Regions from separate parts of the Homo sapiens genome. Here region 1 is linked to region 2. The links are contacts of gene promoters, found by promoter capture Hi-C in human tissues and cell types (Jung and others, 2019). All regions are on one chromosome and are shown on one strand. Each heading gives the region's core, a stretch centred on a gene start or on the middle of the fragment in contact. The rest is flanking DNA. Distances are from core to core; before and after follow the strand shown.

Region 1 (3,122 bases), core at 568-3,067, 230 kb before region 2:
ACATTATGGCAGATTGCATTTTCCAAATATAATACATCCCAATATGTCCCATCCTACATGCTCTTTTTATGTGACGCTGACATTCGTCTGCAGTGGTAGGGTCTGTGTGCCCTCTCCTTGAAGCTGGGCAGACCTTTGTAATTGCTGTAACAGAATACAGCAAAATTAACATCTGTGACTTCTGAGGGTAGGTCATAACAATACCATGTACTTTTGCATTGTTCTTTTGGGATGCTTCCTCTTGCAATCCAGTCACTATGCTGTGAAGAAGCTCAGCCACATGTATTGGCCAGACTTTAGGCATTCTGGCTGACAGCCAGCCTCAACCTTAGCCTTCAAGATACCCCAGTGCCAGGCATTTGACGGCAAATACATGTCAGATTTGGAGCAGGAACCATGAGTTGAGCCCAGTCAACCTCATAACTGTTAGAGATACATTAAGAAAATCGTTGTTATTTTAAACCACTCAGAAAGGAGAGTTTTGGAGTGCTTTATTTGGGGTAACTAGAACAAACACTACAATCAAAACTTTTTTCCATATATAAAAATATATAAACAATTTTAAAAATTGAATTATGATCATACTGTTTTAAAACTCTGAGATAGGGTTTCTGGGGGTTGTAATATGCTATTTCTTCATCTTAGTACTGAATACACCAGAAGTGTTCACTTTGTGAAAATTAAGTTATAATACTTAATTTGCGCACTCTTCTGATATACTTCAATAAAAAAATGTAATTCAGAAGTTTACTGAAATAATGTGTATGTGTATGTATAGAAATTCAAATATATAGAGATTTTTATATACACATATTATATATTACTAAACAGAGAGACTATATGTTAAAATATTAATGATTATCTGCAGGTAGTGGCACTATAAATTCTAAGTTTGTCCAGAAGTTTCTATAATGAACATCTATCTTATAGCCTGAAAAAGTTGCAAGTGCAAAATAATTCTTAACTCACTTTATTCAGTTGTAAAAATGTTAAACTAGGATGCTGAATCAGAGCTACACAGAACAAACTTAAAACATTAAAATGAATCTTGTCATCAAATCCCAACTTAATCTAAAAATTTTAGTGACGACTTACATAAAACAGCCATGTAGCAATTCTATTTCCTGTCCCCAGCTCTTTGAAAGCATCTGGCTCATCTTTCTGTGAATAAAAACACAGTAAATTCAATGGTGTAAAAATTCAGTAATACAAATACTCTAGTGGCAACTAAACATCAGTAGTAATATCCTGAAGAATATGCCAACAACAACCGCAAAAGTTTCCCTTGTAATGTCCAGTGCACTATAAACATCAGGCAATCTTTTTGTAAGATGGAGTCTTGCTATGTGGACCAGGGTGATCTTGAACTCCTGGCCTCAAGCGATCCTCCTGCCTTAGCCTCCCAAAATGCTAGGATCACAGGTGTGAGCCACTGTACCTGGCCTCAAATACGTGATGACTGAACTTGTATACTGGATACTTTAGACAAGATTACTGGATAAAAAGCAGACTTATTAGCCTAAACGACAGCCATTATCTGCAAGCTACATATTATTTTAAAAACAAATACCCACAATTTTAGCTTCTAAAAAATATGACTTGACAGCCATCTCTTAGCTATACTCCTGAAGCTTAATTTACCTTGAGACTTACTTTGAACTCACGACCTACTGAAATATTTCCTAGTATTATTTTCTTTTTTCTTTTTTTTTTTTTTTGAGACAGAGTCTTGCCCTGTCGCCCAGGCTGGAGTGCAGTGCCATGATCTCAGCTCATTGCAACCTCCACCTCCCGGGTTTAAGCAATTCTTCTGCCTCAGCCTCCCAAGTGGCTGGGGCTACAGGCGTGTACCACCATGCCTGGCTAATTTTTTTGTATTTTTAGTAGAGATGGAGTTTCACCATGTTGGCCAGACTGGTCTTGAACTCCTGACCTCAAGTGATCCACCCACCTTGGCCTCCCAAAGTGCTGGGATTACAGGCATGAGCCACCACGCCTGGCCCCTAGTATTATTTTTCTAATAATGCTAGTAAAGTGACTTTCAGCACTATAATCAAGCTAAAGAATTAATATCTAAATATTTATATCTAAATTAAAATACAATACAACCTCTTGGCATTTCTCCCAGAAAAATGAAAATGCATTTTTCACATAGAAATGTAAACACATCTTTATTTGTAATAGCCAAAAACTAAAAACTATCCAAATGTCCTTCGATGGGTGAATGGCTAAACTGTGGTATATCCGTAACATGGAATACAGGTTGAGCATACCAAAAGTCCAAAATGCAAAATGCTCTGAAGTTCAAAACTTTTAGTGCTAACATGACACAAGTGGAAAATTCCATACATAGTACTCCCTGAAGTAGCTCCCCTATCATACACACTATGCCCCAGCCAGGATGGAAACAGACAGTTCCCCATAAGGCTCCTGTATCACAAGAGATTTATTTTCAAACCCATTCTTTCTTTACTGAAGGTGTAATCCTTGTGGAGATTTAGAGTTTATGCCAGGGTCTCAAATTCAGCAGCCTACACTGTGGCAGATCCTCCTCTTACAGAGCTGTTATTCCCAAAGCTCTAGTTCCTGGAGGCACATACCTCCAGCCTCTGTGTTTTGTCCCCTCTTTAATTCTCTAAGTTTGGGATCATTGTTCAGTTTGCCTTTTGGAACACCCTTTACTTTCTTCCAGGCTTGCCAATGCATTTAAAGTATCTTAAGTGATTTTATTGGGTATCTAGGTGTTTGGTTTTTTTTTTTTAACTGGTAAAAAGGTTTCACAGAATATCTGCCACACCGTATTTCCATAAATTCCAAATAGGCTATGAATTTTTAATGTTAAAATAACAGAATTAACATGTTGACAAAGAATCTCTCCTTGACCCAACTACTCAGGCTCCTCTGAACTTTCTTCTCAAGTAGGCCCTGACTTTGGGCTTCTGGTATTTACCTCTGCATTGTCCAATTTAAGCAAGAACCCTGCTAAGTCAGGTTAGCCAGAATTCCCCGTCCTTGCCATGTGATCACCCTCAAAACCTAACTGGGTTCTTCATCTTCCACTATCCCCTGGATGATGATCACTCTTCCCTGACTTCAGCAAGAATCCTGTTAGGTCAGTTTAG
Region 2 (2,999 bases), core at 336-2,835:
AAAATATTTCAGTGCTACTTTACTATGGTAATATTTAAACAATCTATGCAATAAAAATCATCTTGAGCACAACATGCTAGAAAAAGTTTCTCTTGATGAACTGGTATGCCCATTTTATTAGATCGAAACTATAGACCAAGTTAACCCTAGTCCTTATTTCTGGAGTTTTATGTTTACTTCTACTGCTGTAAATACTCTCAAATCCTTTTTGGAAGCAGTCAAAATATAAATCCACAGTATTCAAAATCTTACCCTCCTTTTCCTTGCATTCATCTTTTGTTTCGATTCTTTGACAAAGGCATTATAGGATGGGACCTCTCCGGCGTCAATAGCTTGCTGAATGATATTCCTTATCCTGGGTTCCTCTGTGTACTGCACGCAAAGCACAGACTCCATGATCTGATCCATGTCACCCTTGAAGTCCAGATAGGCCTGCTTAATATCAGCCAGCTCTTCTTCCGAACCTTTGTATGTCTTTTCAAAAGCTTGAATGTCCTCTAAAGATATCTGATGATAAAGGAGATTTGCTTTAACTTTGGGAATTTTACTTTAAATAAAACGTACGTTAGTAAAACTAGAGTTGGGTGTTGAATTGCTGCAATACAACAGTTGCTTGAGTTGAAATTATTGAACCAGATTTTCTATGCCTAAGCTTCTCCGGAGTCCTCCTTTTTAAATCCAATCTTCATTAACTGCTAACTAGGGACCAGGGAAGGGAAATTTAAGTGAAATTTCCAAGAGTGAGAGGTGATCCGGAATCAGGACTTACATTTGGATATGTAAAATAAAGCGCATCCGGCAAAAAAAATAAATCGGCCCTTTTCAGTGCAACAATCACATTAACAGGAAATTTAAAGCCCGTTTCAGTAAGCGTGCGTGTATCTGTATTTCAAGGCCAAACTCAAAATTCCTAATTCCTACAAAATTAACACAAAATACAAGATCTTAGAGGCAGTCAATAAAGGTTTGTTGATTGAATGATGGTAACAGTCACAAAGAAACCTCCAGAGTCCTTTACCTTTTTAAAGAGTAGCCGCCAATACGCCTCCCAGTCTCGGTCTTGGGTGAGCACAGGAGAGTCCTCGTCCACTGTTCCCTGCTCATCGTACACTGCTCTCTGTTCTCTGTCACTGAGAACGGAATAGACTTTTCCCAGGATCTGAGGGCAAAGAGTATCCGTAAATCACCCCTGCTCCTCCCACCGAAACGGCGGCGCGAGAAATAAAGATCAGAAGGCGCCAAGCGGAGCTCAGCGCGCTCCCCCGGGGCGGGGCCCGGTAGCCAAAAGGCTAGGGGGAGGCCCGCGCAGCCGGTCGGCTTCGGGGCGGGACCCTGCATACCTGGAAGCGGCGGGTGGCGTCCTCCTTGTCGCCCTCACCCACCCGGTCCGGGTGTACCTGCAGGGACACCTTGTGGTAGCCTCGTCGGACCTCGCCGTCGGAGGCCTCGCGTCGCACGCCCAGCACCCGGTAAAGGTCGGCGGTGCCGAACACTTCCTCGCAAAGGTCCAGCAGCCCCATGCCGGGCGGAGATACGACCCCGGAGGAAGCAGCCGCTCCCAGCTGCGCCGGGTACAACCCAGGACTGCTTCTTTTTCGCGCCCAAAAAGCCCAGGGCGCCTGCGTCACAAGCACTGAAGGGGCGTGGCCACGCCGCGCATCCGCGCTTTACGGCGGCCGCAAAATGAGGTGTGGCGAGTCAGGCGCGGGCCCGGGTAAGTAACGCCGGCATGTGGAGTCACAGTCCCCGGCCGCGCGCAGGAGCTAGGTCTTCAGGGAAGTGATGTTGCTCGGGTCTCTCCTCCCCTTGCTCTGGAAATCTGGCGTCCGTCTTACCTTTTAGTGTCCAAGAACAACTTTTTCAAAAAGTTCATATATTAGCTTGAATTTACAAACTGCTGGCCTATTTTTTTAAGTAGAAAACGGCCAAACATCAGCATTCAGCAGTTACACATGGTTCAACTTAACAGATGTGTTTTTTCAAAAATGTTCTTGAAAGGAATAGGTAAAGCTGTAGACCCAAATAATTTTGCACCCCACTGGTTGGAAATGCTGGGGTACTTTCCCTCTAGCCCTGTAGGAAAAAACCCTATACTGAAACCCAAAAAGCACAAAACACGGGTCTTCCAAAAACTCTTACCTAATAGGACTTTCACCTTACACATTGGTGGAGAGAGATAACATGACCCAAGCCTCCGTCTTAATAACATAAACTGCTGAAGCAAAGGCTCTTTCTTTTAATACTCTGTGAAGTTCACAGCTGGGTTTGAACATGTTGGATCCCAGGTGGCAGCAGAGTGGGCTGGAGCAATCATCCAAGAGATGGTGAGAAACTTGGGCCTGGAGACCCAAAGCAAGGTTGAGGCTGGGGATAAAACTTTGTTAGTAGGGTAAACTCACAGAGGAAGTATGTGTATACATATCTTAAAGGATAAACAATGCTAAGTGAATACCCGAGTTGGCAGAAAATACCTTATCAAATATCCCCTCACTGATGTAGCATTTTTCAGAATCATTCTGCTCTGCCAATAAGTTTCTGCAAAGCCTCAAACTCTCCAGGATACATTAATATCTTTTAAACTTCCCAGAGTTGCCGTGATTTTCAAAGCATTTCTCTTTCCCAGATCCAAGATCAAACTCAGCTGAAGTCAGTTCCTCTCAACCTGCCCTGGCATCAAAGTCTCAAAGCAAGTGGGGGCCAACCAGCAACAACCCCAGGGGAGCTTTGACAACCACAGAATTTGAGATGGCTGGTAATCGTTCTCAGAACATAAAACACAAAGTAAGTCGGCACATTGATAGAACCTCCTCTATAAATTTCCTATATCTTAGTCACACACCAGAGTTAAGCCATCTGTCTTTGCTCATTTTTCCCTCTATGGACAACATAATATGTTGGGAAGGGCTTTCCAGGAGGGCATAACCGGGAGATGAATCTTACATCACTGGGCAAGTTTCCACCTCTAGGCCTCAGCTTCCCTATCTGTAAAACGGAGATAA

What was found. The method cuts DNA at HindIII sites, captures the fragments that hold promoters and counts their contacts. A contact is called where the count stands out against the background at its distance.
Region 1: a fragment that was not itself captured here is called in contact with the fragment with the promoter of DNAJC9 in region 2 in 1 of the 25 tissues and cell types used here (liver).

Annotation. Positions count from the first base shown.
Region 1 is chr10:73,013,129-73,016,250 of GRCh38, forward strand. It overlaps P4HA1 (prolyl 4-hydroxylase subunit alpha 1), which reads right to left. Exons shown (of 15, transcript NM_001017962.3): 12 at 1,096-1,161. Among named protein-coding and RNA genes, the nearest start is that of PLA2G12B, 60 kb to the left of the region's middle. The HindIII fragment of the contact is 5,698 bases long and covers 1-3,122 here.
Region 2 is chr10:73,245,670-73,248,668 of GRCh38, forward strand. It overlaps DNAJC9 (DnaJ heat shock protein family (Hsp40) member C9), which reads right to left and starts at 1,586. Exons shown (of 5, transcript NM_015190.5): 1 at 1,341-1,586; 2 at 1,019-1,159; 3 at 253-507. The coding sequence starts at 1,520. DNAJC9-AS1 (DNAJC9 and MRPS16 antisense RNA 1) reads left to right here and starts at 1,698. Exons shown (of 4, transcript NR_038373.1): 1 at 1,698-1,714; 2 at 2,624-2,781. RefSeq lists enhancers at 1,028-2,227, 1,493-1,832 and a silencer at 1,143-1,292. The HindIII fragment of the contact is 4,197 bases long and covers 1-2,999 here.